Linked DNA regions of Homo sapiens: all the other regions are linked to region 1. The links are contacts of gene promoters, found by promoter capture Hi-C in human tissues and cell types (Jung and others, 2019). All regions are on one chromosome and are shown on one strand. Each heading gives the region's core, a stretch centred on a gene start or on the middle of the fragment in contact. The rest is flanking DNA. Distances are from core to core; before and after follow the strand shown. Region 1 holds the start of ID4 (inhibitor of DNA binding 4). Region 2 has its middle 68 kb from the start of TRQ-CTG1-1. Region 3 overlaps MIR548A1HG (MIR548A1 host gene).

The links. Contacts are between HindIII fragments. The study calls those that stand out against the background at their distance.
Region 2: a contact is called between a fragment that was not itself captured here and the fragment with the promoter of ID4 in region 1, in 1 of the 25 tissues and cell types used here (dorsolateral prefrontal cortex).
Region 3: a contact is called between a fragment that was not itself captured here and the fragment with the promoter of ID4 in region 1, in 1 of the 25 tissues and cell types used here (lymphoblastoid cells).

What each region holds. Positions count from the first base shown.
Region 1 is chr6:19,834,133-19,838,639 of GRCh38, reverse strand. ID4 (inhibitor of DNA binding 4) reads right to left here and starts at 1,270. Exons shown (of 3, transcript NM_001546.4): 1 at 445-1,270; 2 at 1-56. The coding sequence starts at 885. The coding sequence ends at 12. The HindIII fragment of the contact is 7,095 bases long and covers 1-4,507 here.
Region 2 is chr6:18,765,711-18,770,329 of GRCh38, reverse strand. No RefSeq gene overlaps it. Among named protein-coding and RNA genes, the nearest start is that of TRQ-CTG1-1, 68 kb to the left of the region's middle. The HindIII fragment of the contact is 7,845 bases long and covers 1-4,619 here.
Region 3 is chr6:18,660,554-18,665,047 of GRCh38, reverse strand. All of the region lies in intron 4 of MIR548A1HG (MIR548A1 host gene), which reads right to left. Among named protein-coding and RNA genes, the nearest start is that of MIR548A1, 91 kb to the right of the region's middle. The HindIII fragment of the contact is 3,049 bases long and covers 792-3,840 here.

The DNA of each region.
Region 1 (4,507 bases), core at 21-2,520:
GACAGCGCGGCTCAGCGGCACAGAATGCTGTCGCCCTGCTTGTTCACCGCGCCGGCCTGGAACAGCAACCGAACACCAAGGGAAAGGTTAGCAGGCGCAAACAACGCGCTCGACACGGTCCTGGATTGTCCTCGGAAATCAGGCTGGCGCGCCGACGCCCCCACCCCAGCCTGTAGCCGGGGGGGCCCCTCCGGGCTCAGGCGGGACTTGACAGCCCAGGGCGCCCACAGCCCCGAGTCCCGCCCTGCGCGTTCTCCCGGACCCGCGCTCGCCGAGCCCGGCCGGCTGCTGGCGGCCCGGGGGAGCCCGGAGGAGCAGGGGGAGGGGGCTGTCATTCCTGGCCCGCCCCTGCCCGGAGGACGGTGAGCGCCCGCGTCCCGCCACCACGCCACCAACCTCCCATCCCCCGCGGCGTCCGCCCACGGCCGGCGCCCGGCCTCTCACCGGGTCGGTGTTGAGCGCAGTGAGCGGGGTCCGCGGCGGCGCGGCTGGACAGGTCCCGGCCGGGTGGTGTGGCGGCGCGGGCGGTGGTGGCTGCCTCAGCAGGGCCGGGTGCGTCTCCAGCGCCAGCTGCAGGTCCAGGATGTAGTCGATAACGTGCTGCAGGATCTCCACTTTGCTGACTTTCTTGTTGGGCGGGATGGTGGGCACCAGCCTCCGCAGGCGGCTATAGCAGTCGTTCATATCGCACTGCAGGCACAGCGCCGGCTCGTCGGCCGCCGCCTCGGCCGCCTTACAGCGCGCTGCCGCCGCCGCCGCCGCCGCGGCTGCGGAGCCACCCAGGCTGTGGCCGTGCTCGGCCAGGCAGCGCAGCGCCAGCTCCCCGCCGCCGCAGCCCGACGGCGCCTTGCGGCCCGAGGGGCGCACCGGGCTCACCGCCTTCATCGCGCGCGCCCTGCGCTCTACGCGAGCGAACCCGCTGGGGCGAGCGAGGGAGGCAGGCAAGCTCCGGGCCCCGTCCGCGGCCGGCTCCGCTCCCTTTGCCTCCGCGCCCGGCGCGCTCGGGGCACCGCGACACTCCCGAGCCCAACAATTGACGGGAGGGTCGCTCTGGGTTTTACGAGGGAATCTTTGCTCAGTGGGCGACACTCAGCCCGAGCCCAAAGGAAAAAAAAAGCAAAAGCACCGGAAGAAAAGTAGCCCACCCGGGTGTCCTAGTCACTCCCTTCGGAGCTCCGACTAAGCCCGATCGCGGCCGCCGCGCTCCCCTAGCCCGGGATCACCCCACTCCCGGTACTACTCACAACCGCGCCTCCTCCACTACGCTCTCGCCCGGCCCGCCGCGCAGCTGTATTTATAGAGCCGTGCGCCCCGGGGGCGGGACCAGCGCGCGGGCCGGGTCGCAGCGCGAGCCGAGCGGAGCCCGCTGGGCGCGCGGGCGGGGGCGCGGAGGGAGAGGCGAGGGCGGGGGCTCCGGGCGGTGCTGGGGGGCGGGGAGTCCGGCTACCCGAGTGGAGGAGTGGGCGGGGGGTCTGGAGTGGCCAGCCAATCAGGCGGGCAGTGCCACCTCGGGGAATGACGCTCGGGCCAATGGGAAGGGCACTCCATTCCGTCAACGCTGTGGGTCGGGGTTCTGAGAAAAGAGAGCTGAGTGGGAGTCGGGCCAGGCTGATGTGTGCCCAAGGGAGGGGAAAAGAGAGAGCGAAGTTCCTGCGAAGAACTGCGGGAATGTGCGGCCGGAATTCACTCTCCACCGCCCCCCTTATCCCGACTAGGCTGCTGAGGGAGCGCCTGGGCCCTGCTCGCGGATACCCTGCCACTCCTAATAGCACGGCGCCCAGGGACCCTCCGCCACCCATCACTCCATCCGTGGGATTCCAGTGCCTTAAGAAAGACGCGCTGTTCAAGAAGGCACGTTCATTCTGTTCTATATTTCCCTCCTCCGTTTCATTATTCGCCTTTTCACATTTGCCGAAACCATAATGATGGAATGGAATGTGTAGCCTTTCCGTTTTCTTTTTAAAAAATGCTAAAGCTTAGCAAAAGTAGAAAAAAAAAGAAGGAAAAGAATGCCGAATCGAATGCAGGTTTTTGGTGAAGGGAATATAAATAAAACAAAAACGTGGGGGGGGTTCTTTTACCCCATCTAAATGCAAAAGTGGGCTCAAGAAATGCAGTTGCCTTGCGCATTCAATTAGAGCACGTAAAGATTAAAAATGCATGGACACGGAATATTTAAAATTCCATTATGACATATAATATTAATCTGTTTTATGTAAAATTCATACCTGTAACTTAATTTAGGCCATTAATGCACAGCTTCACGTATTAGTCAGCGTACCCCGCTTTAAATAAGGTGATGAGAATGTCCAGAGTCGCCTCCTTTGACAGCAAAGCATTAAAATTCACACTTCCAGTCTCTGGGATCCCGCTTGGGCCCCACCCTGCAAAAAAAAGCCTGTTAATTAAGGGCGTTTTTGTGTTAGATTTCTTAGAGAAAAGCTGTCCTTCAAGGGTTCAAAATAAAATTGCACAATGAGCTTTGGTGGAGCATTGTGTGTACCCTTCAAGAAAAAATTGAGCCCTTCAGATGAGAAAGGTGCATAAAAATTCTCAGACAATGGGGAAATGAATTTTGAGTGCCTTCACTCTACAAACCCTCCCACCTTTAGACACGCTTGGAGATGAATTAACCCAAGAATTTTCTTCATTCGTGTACATGACATGGATTGGTGTCTTCATTTTCATAGATAATTGAAAGAAAGAGACATGGACCTCATTTCTTCCTGTCTACCCCTATATGGACTTTTTCTACATCCATTCCCAGAACTGAAATACCTGCACCAGGCAGATATTTTGTTTAGCTATGTCAGTGCTTTATGACTATCGCACTATTCCCCAGAGCACATTCCTTTCTCCTGATGAAATGAGGAGCAACTATTTAATTCTGGTTTCACAGGTAGATGCAATAACCCTCCTCTCCCCTAATCCTTGTATGTTACTGCTTCTAATAATTGTTTGGAAACAAGTGCCATTCTCATTTATTTATGTGCATACGTAGATGGTCTACATACACATTAATCGAGAAAATCAGAATTATGAAACTCAGAAGGGCTTTCTTCTAAAGACAGGCATAGTCATATACATCATTAAATTAATGCAAATACAGAGAAAATGTTGTAATTTTAAATGGGAAGTCGGTGAAGCCAGCACTACTGGTTGTAAGCTATTATCTTGGAGCCAGTCATATGAGCACAGACGATAATAATAAATGGATATATGTACAGATGTTTTGTTCCATTGATCTTTCTCTTTCCTAGAGTTTAAAATTTGCTTCCAAATTCAAAACCCAAGACTTTCCTCTGTTTGGCAAAATAAAACTATGCTAATATGCCCAGGACACACTTACATTTAAACATTTTACATATCCTAACGATTAAAATTAAAATTTAAGTTTTGAATACGTAACACAAAGGAAGAATCATATCGACCTTTTTGGAATTTGCTAAATCTCAGAAAGCCATGCCTTGGGTGTGACAAGCGCCAAATGCCTAAGTTTCAGGTTTTGTTGGAGATGCTCTGTGTGACTGGCTTAAAGTTAGAAAGACTGAGTTACTCTGTGTGGGGTGGGGTGGAAGAGGTGGTTTCAAAGGAATGTACCTCAGCCACAAGATCAAGAATACCCAGGAAAGATGTGATCCGTAAATCCTGCTAGCAGAGTAGGCAGAGGCAGTTACTGTGCTCCTTGTTTTGAAGGTTGGAAGGCATGAAGACATTAAAAAATTAAAGTGCTACCATATACTATGGGAATAAGGAATACAATCCTGCACGTTTTGGTCCATGAAACCAGAGAGTACTAGGGGCTATGCAATGTATGTTTTTGTATTCTTAGACATAGACACTTACATGACATCAAAGCTGCAATCATGGAAGATTCCTGGCACTGATAATTCAAAACAGTTTACCCAATTATCACTCAGATTTTGGATAAACCTTACAAGCTATGTTATTTCTACTGTGCAGAGAAGGTAACTTAGTCTGTTGGTGACTCTTTTACATCAAAGTGTTTCACTTGCACTTGTAAAAGTAAAATGGGCTAACCCAAATCCTTTTGTCATGGAAATGCTCGAGACTCCCAAAATATACCTCAGTAGGAACCTAGAATGAAACATTCATAGGAGAATTGCTAGAAAGCCGTGATGACCAGAGTCATGGATACACCCTTCCTCCAGACAAAGAGGTCTGCTGTCCTCCCTGAGATGTATTCTAGCTACTAAATCAGGCCCTCACTGAACTGCAACACCCAGGCCTTTAGAAGTCATAGTCACCCTGTGTTTACATGAAGCAAGGGTATGGAAGCATATTGTGCTCTTCATTCCCAGTGCCTTTTTAGGACTTGATACTTGTTTCTCCATAGCCTCCAGGGAAACAGTGAGTGTACTCATACACAGATAAACGTGAATGTTCCAATGCCTTGGTCACTCTGTAGATTTGTCGTCACAGAAAGAGGCACATGCATTCTTTGAGGGCATAAGAAACCACTATGTACTCTGCAGCAGGACTGTCC
Region 2 (4,619 bases), core at 863-3,362, 1.1 Mb after region 1:
AAATACAAAAAATTAGCCAGGCGTGGTGGCGGGCACCTGTAGTCCCAGCTACTTGGGAGGCTGAGGCAGGAGAATGGCATGAACCTGGGAGGCAGAGCTTCCAGTGAGCTGAGATCGAGCCACTGCACTCCAGCCTGGGCTACAGAGTGAGACTCCATCTCAAAAAAAAAAAAAAAAATTAAGCCATAATTTATGTACTATATAAGTTGCCCTTTTTGTTGTATACATCTGCAAGTTTTGACAGGTGCATACAGACTTGTAACCATCACCACAATCAAGCTATAGAATGCTTCCATCCCCCTTAAAATATTCCCCTTCACCCCTTTATAGTCAAATTTCCCCCTCTCACCACCATCTCTGGCAATTACTGGTTCGTGTTCTACCTCTATGGTCTTGCCTTTTTCAGAATATCATATAAATGGAATTATACGGCATAAAGCCTTCTTGAATCAGGCTTCTTTCACTGACCATCCATGTTTTTATGCTAATCAGTAATTTGCTCCTTTTTATTGCTTAACAGTATTTCAATGTGTTGATGTAATACAGTTTGTTAATTCATCCCTGGGGAGAGGGACTTTTGGGGTGTTTCCACGTTTTTGTGATTAAATATAATACGGCTGTAAATGTTAACATGCAGGTTTTTGTGTGAACATAAGTTTTCATTTCACTTTGGTAAATATTTAGGCATGAAATGATTGGTCATATAGTAAACATATGTTTTAAATGTAGAAGAAATTACCAAAGTGGTTTTCATAGTGGTTGTGCCATTTTACATTCCCACGAGAAGCGTGTGAGTTCCAGTTCCTCCACATCCTCGCCAGCACTTTGTATGACCAGTAAATGGTAAAATCCATCCTCCCACTAAGTTGGGTGAAAGTATCTGGCATCATCATCATCAGTTCCTCTACTTTGTTCATACCCTATATCCAGCCAGTCAAAAAAGCCAATCAGATCTACCATTAAGTCATACCCAGAACCTAAACCGCTGATTACATTTGCCATTAGATCTTCGTAACTTTTTTATTGCAAAAACTTCCAAACTGATTTTCAAGTTTAATATTCTGAACTCAGATGCTTAAAGTGTAGGTTAATCATCTCATTTTCATGCTCAAAATCCTGTAATCTTCCCATTTCACTCAGTAAAAGCCAAAAGTCCTGGTAATCCCCTAAAACACTGCACAATCAGGCCCCACAAGTCTGACTTCCCCTTTGCCTACCTGCCCTTTTTTTCCCTTTCTTTCTTTTCTTTTCTTTTTTTTCTTTTTTTTTTTTTTTTTTTTGAGATGGAGTCTTGCTGTGTCGCCCAGGTAGGAGTGCAGTGGCATGATCTCGGCTCACTGCAACCTTCTCCTCCCCGATTCAAGCAATTCTCCTGCCTCCGCCTCCCAAGTAGCTGGGTCCACAGGCACACGCTGCCATGCCTGGCTAATTTTTTTGTATTTTAGTAGAGACAGGGTTTCACCGTGTTGCTCAGTCTGGTCGCAAACTCCTGAGCTCAGGCAATCCACCCGCCCAGGCCTCCCAAAGTGCTGAGATTACAGGCGTGAGCCACTGTGCCCAGCCTTTTTTTCTTTCTTTCTTTCTTCTTTCTTTCTTTTTTCTCTCTCTCTTTCCTTCCTTCCTTCTCTCTTTCTCTCTCTCTTTCTTTTCCTTCCTTCTTTCCTTCCTTCTTTCCTTCCTTCCTTCCTTTCCTTTTTTTTTTTTTGACAGGGCCTTGCTCCATTGCCCAGGCTAGAGTGAGGTGGTGCAACCTCAGCTCAATGCAACCTACACCTCCTGGGCTCAAGTGATCCTCCCACCTCAGCCTCCCCAGTAGCTGAGACTGCAAGTGCATACTATCACACCTGGCTAATTTTTGTATTTTTTTAATAGAGACGGGGATTTCACCAGGTTGCCCAGGCTGATGTTGAGCTCCTGAGCTAAGGTGATCCACCCACCTCAGCCTCCCAAAGTGCTGGGGATTACTGGCGTGAGCCACTGCACCCAACTTTTCCTTAAGTCTCAGTGATTTTTTGTTGTTCTTCAAACATGCCAGGCAAGCTCCTACTTCAAGGCTCTACAATTGCTGTTTCCTTTCTTGAAATGTTTTTCTATCAAAAATCTACATGTTTTATTTCCTCACCTCCTTCAAGTTTTCTTCACTCAAATATTGAGCCACCCACTCTAAAATTGCAGCTTACTCTTCCACAACTGTCCTGTACCCTCATTCTCTGCTTTATTTTTTCCTTAGTATTTATAGTCATCTTACATGCTATATATTAAATTACACATTTGTTTATTGACTTGATTTATCCCTCAAGAACATAAATAAAGGGAAGGCATGGAATTTTGCAAGCATTGCTTACTGCTGTATCTAGCCTTGAAAACCATACCTAGAACACAAATAGGGTGTCAATAAATCTCTGTTGAATCAATTAAATTTGTCACAGTCTAGAATTTGTTAAATGGTCAGGACTTTCGCTCTGCCTTGGTGTAAGAGCTAGTTTGCTTTTCTAGGCAAAGAAAGTTTTTGTCTTGTTTTGTTTGTCTAGGCACCCTGATATGGTGTTTCCATCTGCTTTAGTGCATCGGGATGTTAGAAGGAGGTTTTATCTGCTTCTCACACTGGCAGCTTACATGTGCTCAGATTTACTGATCTCTGAGGGCACTTAGGCACCCACTGTTTGTTTATTTTGGAATTATTTTGTTATCAGCTTTACATGGGTATGAACCGTTGCCAAGATGGAAAGCCCTTCGAGGACTGTTATTCCTCATCCTCAGGATGCTCTCTGACCTGACCTTGAGAAACAACTGCAGCTCCTTGCAGAAGATGAAGAATATAAAATCTTCATTGCTTGCTCTGGGCCAAAGAGATTTCTGCCCAGCACCAACAGCAGGCTGCTGTTAGCCATGGTGTGCTACAACACTCAAGAATCACCCCTCCAGGCCCTATATAAGGTATGTCCTCCCCCACATTAGAGAGACCACTGGAATCAGCCACAGCCAGGAGTCTTTGAAGATGATTCATATGTGTATCCTTCCATCCCCACAACAAACAAATAAACAAGCGAACAAAAAACCCTCACAAGTCCTGGTTTCATTAAAAAAAAAAAAAATCCTTTACATTATGAGAAGAAAATTATTCCACAGAAAGTTTGAAAAATAATAAAGTGACCCATAATCTCACCATCCTAAGACAACCAACACCTTCAATTTTGTAGATCACCTTCTGTCTTTTATAATATGAATATTTTACATAGGTGTAAGCTTACTGCACATGTAATTGCATACATTTTAAAATCAATGTTATAATCATTCATTCATCAGGTGGTTAACAGAACAATTGATGAGAACAAACTGGGAGCCATGGACCAAGAGTTAACCCTGTCTTCAAAGGGCTCATAGTCTAGACAAGCACTTTTCAATAGAAATATAGTGCAAGCCAAATATGCAAGTTCAAATTTTTAAAGAAATGATTGAAATTAATTTTGCTACTATATTTTATTTAACCCAATATATCTAAAATATTATCATTTCAACATGTAATCAATAAAAAATTGTTAATGAAATATTTAACATTTTTTGTATCAAGTCTTTGAAATCCAGTGTCCAATGTCTTTTGCTTTCACAGCATACCTCGATTTGGACAAGACCTGTTTCCAGTGCTCAAAGCCACATGGTACCGGTAGCCATCGTCCTGGACAATGCAGTCTGCGAGGGTACCTTTCTATGTTTCTAAGAGTTTTCAACTTTGCAATTATTATCTTTCATACTTTCATAATATGCTATTGGGTTTATTTAGTTATTCACTTTTTACTGAACATCCAAGTTAACTCCATTTTTTTCACAATTATAAATTATACAGCAATGGATGTATTTTACCATATTTTGAATTAGTATTTAATTAGATTACTCTCACAGATGTGGAATGCTTGAGGTAAAAGGTTCAAACACAGTAATGAGTTTTGGTACACATTTTCAAGTTGCTTTCCAAAACCGTTGAATGATTTTACCCTGCCTCTAGCAATGTGTGTGAGCCAGTTTCACTGAGTATACCCCAGCGCCAGCCATACAAATCTCCATCCTTCCCAACTTCTTGTCTGGCTTCCTGGGCATTAGCTTTCCAGAGTTATTTTGCTGTTATTTTGTTTTTTGTTAGTTTATTTGTTTCTTTGAGGCTTTTTGTTTTGCTGTTCTGTTTGCATTTTTTGATTTCAGGTATACGTTGCTAATGGCAGTGTTTTTATGTTCGAAAATAAAATTCCAATTCTAATTTCCCTCTATTCACAGTATTTCCTTTTAATACTGAGCCAACACCTACCCAACAAGGAAATTCAAACTCATGGCAGGATGACATTTTCTATTACCTTCACCACCTTTGTTTTTCCTCATTCTCATTCCTAAGAGAAGATTTTCCTGAATGGGAATATGCTTCAAGGTTATGCTATGAGAGACAAAAACTTAATTAGTGAAAAATATATTTAGGAGGCTTATTTGTTCTATGAGTCTAAACAATGTGAGCACTCAGAGTAATTGGGCCTGTTTGTTTGAATGCAAGAGGCTGCAGCAGGATGAAGCAGAGATCCCAAGGAAGAAGGATAGAGAACAATGGACACGGGAGGCCAAATTCCAGAGTAGGT
Region 3 (4,494 bases), core at 1,067-3,566, 1.2 Mb after region 1:
TAGTGTGTTTAATTTTTGCATTGGCTTCAAAGAGAAACTACATACATGTTTAAATCCCTGTCTATCACCCATAAGTATGGAATATTATGTAAAACTATCCCTTCGTATTTTACTATAGTACCTCTTTAAAACTATGTTTTCATAATTTTCATATTTCCAGTGGAGTTGAAATTATAATTAATATGAATTTCTAAAGTTTACACTCTTGTACGGGAAAGAGTATTGCTATTTGCCAGAATGAGAGATGACCTTGCCTAAATGGGGGGAACAAAAGATTGTTTATTGGGGATGAATTTACATTTATGGCCAGTTAAATCTTTCTCTGGTGCCTCTGATTCTCCTCTCTGGTACTATGAGAAGGCAACTTTGGTTAGTCGCTCCCACTCACATCCGAGCAGAGCTGCAATAACAGCAAATGGTCCTTGGAAATCACAATCACATTAGGCTGCTGTTCAAATAGCTTTTAGGGTTGTGATAATAGGAGGCATTCCTAATAACTGGTGACTCTGTGAGACCCTGCCCAGAAGGCCTCCAAATGGCAGCACACAATTTAAATTTTAATCTGGAAGCGGTGGAAATGATGAGATTCCAGCTGGGGACCTTCTGGTCTGAGGGCCGGTGTTCAGCCTCCCGATTAGATGCCCCAAAGCTTCATTGAGTTGACGAGTGAGTGCCCCTTATCTCTCTACTCTTTTCTGCTGCATACCATCGCCCACCTGATTGCTTGGAACCTCAGAAGGTCATCTTTCTTTGCTTCCGTAGAGGCTGTCTTGGAGCTGATGGAACATTCCCAGTTTGCTGTGATCCAACTAAACACATTTGTGCTTGTGGTAGTGGAATGATACTTTTATCATTCTGACAAGTGGTAACTTTCTGAACTTTTTTCCTTCCATGCGCTGAGTGGGCTTTGGGACGTACTTACTCACTTAAAGCTTCAAATGAAAGCTGGCAGATGCATGCCATGGGCAGGAAGAAAACACTTTATTTTTTCCTACAATAAGCAATAACCCTTAGGATAATAACTCAACACAAGTTAAATAGCTAAAGGGAACATTAGTGGGACCCTGTCAGCATGGAAAGGAACAGCTGGCCATGTTAGTAATCATTGCATACCATTACTTGGGAAGTCCACTCCCAATTCTACCACCAACTTGTATTTCCTGAGTGTTTAGGCAGTAACACATGACAGATGAGGAAGTATCGAAACAGGACATCAGACACAGAACTCTAGATTTGAATGTTTGGCATTTCCAGATTCAGTTTCCAGTGAGCAGGGAGGAAAAAAAAATCTTATTAACTGGAACAAAGTTGGGAAGAATATCAAATATCTCTCTCATGTCTCTGACTCAATCATTTTTAATAGGAAACTTTTTTATTCCCAATGCATATCAGTGACTCCCAAGAATGGCGATTTGTCTCTCAAACTAGGAGTGTGAATCTAATGAAGGGATGCACATTAATACCTGGATGTTTGCAATACTCAGAGTGCAAACTCAGCTGCTTCCACTGGGCTCCATTAGGAAGCCTATTTCAGTACCCCAATACCCTCAGCAGCAGAATTAGAAAGTTGTTTTGATTTTTTTAAACCACACACAGGAGCAAATTTCTGCAAGGTGGAAATGGGAATAAAAACTAGTGTTTTGGAATTTTTTTCTTTGCAGATAGTCATCAAATGAGGTACAATATTTGCTAACAGAGGGTAATTTGAATTATCCACGGATAGTTCAAAAACACAAAGAGTTCATTACCCAGATATCTCTATTTAAAATAGATTTGCTTTTGTTCATCAGTGCAGTGCACATGGCTGGGAAATGGCAAAGTGCCAGAATGAAACTGCTCCTAATTTTCAGAGGAGGCCACCAGCTAATTACACAGACTGCAGGTGTGAAGAGAGAAGCTCAAAGTAATCAATAGCAGTAATTAATCTGCTAGACTGGAGCTAAAGAGCTAACAGCTGGACATCAGAAATGGACACATGCAACAAGATCAGCAATAATTACCTCTTTAAATATTGAATTTCCATAGCAACAATTAAGCATATAAATAAAGGCTGGAAACCAAGGCTTTGAGGCATGACATTGCATGGCAAACACAACATTCCCCAAATCAACCCTTTTAATAAAACACCAACAATATGCTTGGGCTGGGTTGACCGATTTCCAGGGTTGGAAAAAGCTGAATGTAGCTCCTCCTGCCTCTGCTTTCTTGGCTTCCAGTCATTGGCTATCCCATCCCCAAGGTACAAAGATGGCCCTAGAAGTTTGCTTTGGGCAAGATAACAATACCTTCCCTAGTACAGCTGAGCTACCAGCTGTAAGACACATTTCCTCTCAACTGGAAAACATGTTCCTTTTCTAAGAATCATGAAATCTATAAGCAAAATTCCTAATTAAGGTGCTGGAACCACTAATATTGAAAAAAGCAATTGGGCAGTATATTGAGAGTCTCTTCAAGACCAATATGACAAGCAAGAGACTCAGACATTGAGGCTTCTATAACATTTTTTGCTTTGTGAAAAGAATAAAGAAAACTTTTTATTGTATTTATTTTTTTTTTATTTTAAGTTCCAGGATCCATGTGCAGAACGTGCAGATTTGTTACATAGGTATACGTGTGCCGTGGTGGTTTGCTGCACCTATTGACTCATCCTCTAAGTTCCCTCCCCACTGCCCCCACCCCACAACACCCTCAGGCCCTGGTGTGTGATGTTCCCCTCCCTGTGTCCATGTGTTCTCATTGCTCAACTCCCACTTATGAGCGAGAACATGCAGTGTTTGGTTTTCTGTTCCTCTGTTAGTTTGCTGAGGATGATGGCTTCCAACTTCACCCATGTCCCTGCAAAGGACATGATCTCATTCCTTTTTATGTCTGTGTAGTATTCTATAGTGAATATGTACCACATTTTCTTTATCCAGTCTATCATTGATGGGCATTTGGGCATCCATGACTTTGCTATTATAAACAGTGCTGCAATAAACATACATGTGCATGTGTCTTTATAGTAGGATGATTTATATTCCTCTGAGTATATACCCAGTAATGGGATTGCTGGGTCAAATGGTATTTCTGATTCGAGATCCTTGAGGAATCCCCATACCGTCTTCCACAATGGTTGAACTAATTTACATTCCCACCAAAGTGTAAAAGCATTCCTATTTCTCCACAGCCTCACCAGCATCTATTGTTTCTTGACTTCTTAATAATCACCATGCTGACTGGCATGAGATGGTATCTCATTGTGGTTTTGATTTGAATTTCTCTAATGATCAATGATGTTGGGGATTTTTTAATGTTTGTTGTCTGCATAAATATCTTCTTTTGAGAAGTGTCTGTTCATATCCTTTGCCCACTTTTTGATGGAGTTGTTTTCTTCTTGTAAATTTAAGTTCCTTGCAAATTCTGGATATAAGACATTTGTCAAATGAGTACATTGCAAAAATGTTCTCCTGTTCTGTAGGTTGCCTGTTCACGCTGATGATAGTTTCTTTTGCTGTGAAGAAGCTCTTTATTTTAATTAGATTCCATTTGTCCATTTTGGCTTTTGTTGCAATTCCTTTTGGCATTTTCATCATGAAGTCTTTGCCCATGCCTATGTCCTGGTGGTATTGCCTAGGTTTTCTTCTAGGGTTTTTATGGTTTGGGGTTTTACATTTAAGTCTTTAATCCATCCTCAGTTAATTTTTGTATAAGGTGTAAGGAAGGGGTCTAGTTTCAGCTTTCTGCATATGGCTAGCCAGTTTTCCCAGAACCATTTATTGAATAGAAGATCCTTTCCTCATTGCTTGTTTTTGTAGGTTTGTTGAAGATCAGATGGTTGTAGATGTGTGGTGTTATTTCTGAGGTCTATGTTCTGTTCCATTCGTCTATATGTCTGTTTTGGTACCAGTATCATGCTGTTTTGGTTACTGTAGCCTTGTAGTATCGTTCGAGGTCAGATGCCTCCAGTTTTGTTATTTTTGCCTAGGATTGTCTAGGCTATACAAGGTCTTCTTTGATTCCATATGAAATTTAAAGTAGTTTTTTTCTAATTCTGTGAAAAATGTCAATGATAGTTTGATGGGAATAGCATTTAATCTATAAATTACTTAGGGCACTATGGCCATTTTCATGATATTGATTCTTCCTATCTGTGAGGATGAAATGTTTTTCCATTTGCTTGTGTCCTCTCTTATTTCCTTCAGCAGTGGTTTGTAGTTCTTTCACATCTCTTATTAGCTGTATTCTTAGACATTTTATTCTCTTTGTAGCGATTGTGAATGGGAGTTCATTCATGATTTGGCTCTCTGTTTGTCTATTGCTGGTGTAAAGGAATGCTTGTGATTTTTGCACATCGATTTTGTATCCTGAGACTTTGCTGAAGTTGCTTATCAGCTTAAGGAGTTTTGGGGCTGAGAAGATGGGGTTTTCTAAATATAAAATCATGTCACCTGCAAACAGAGACAATTTGACTTTCTCTCTTCCTATCTGAATACCCTTTATTTCTTTCTCTTGCCT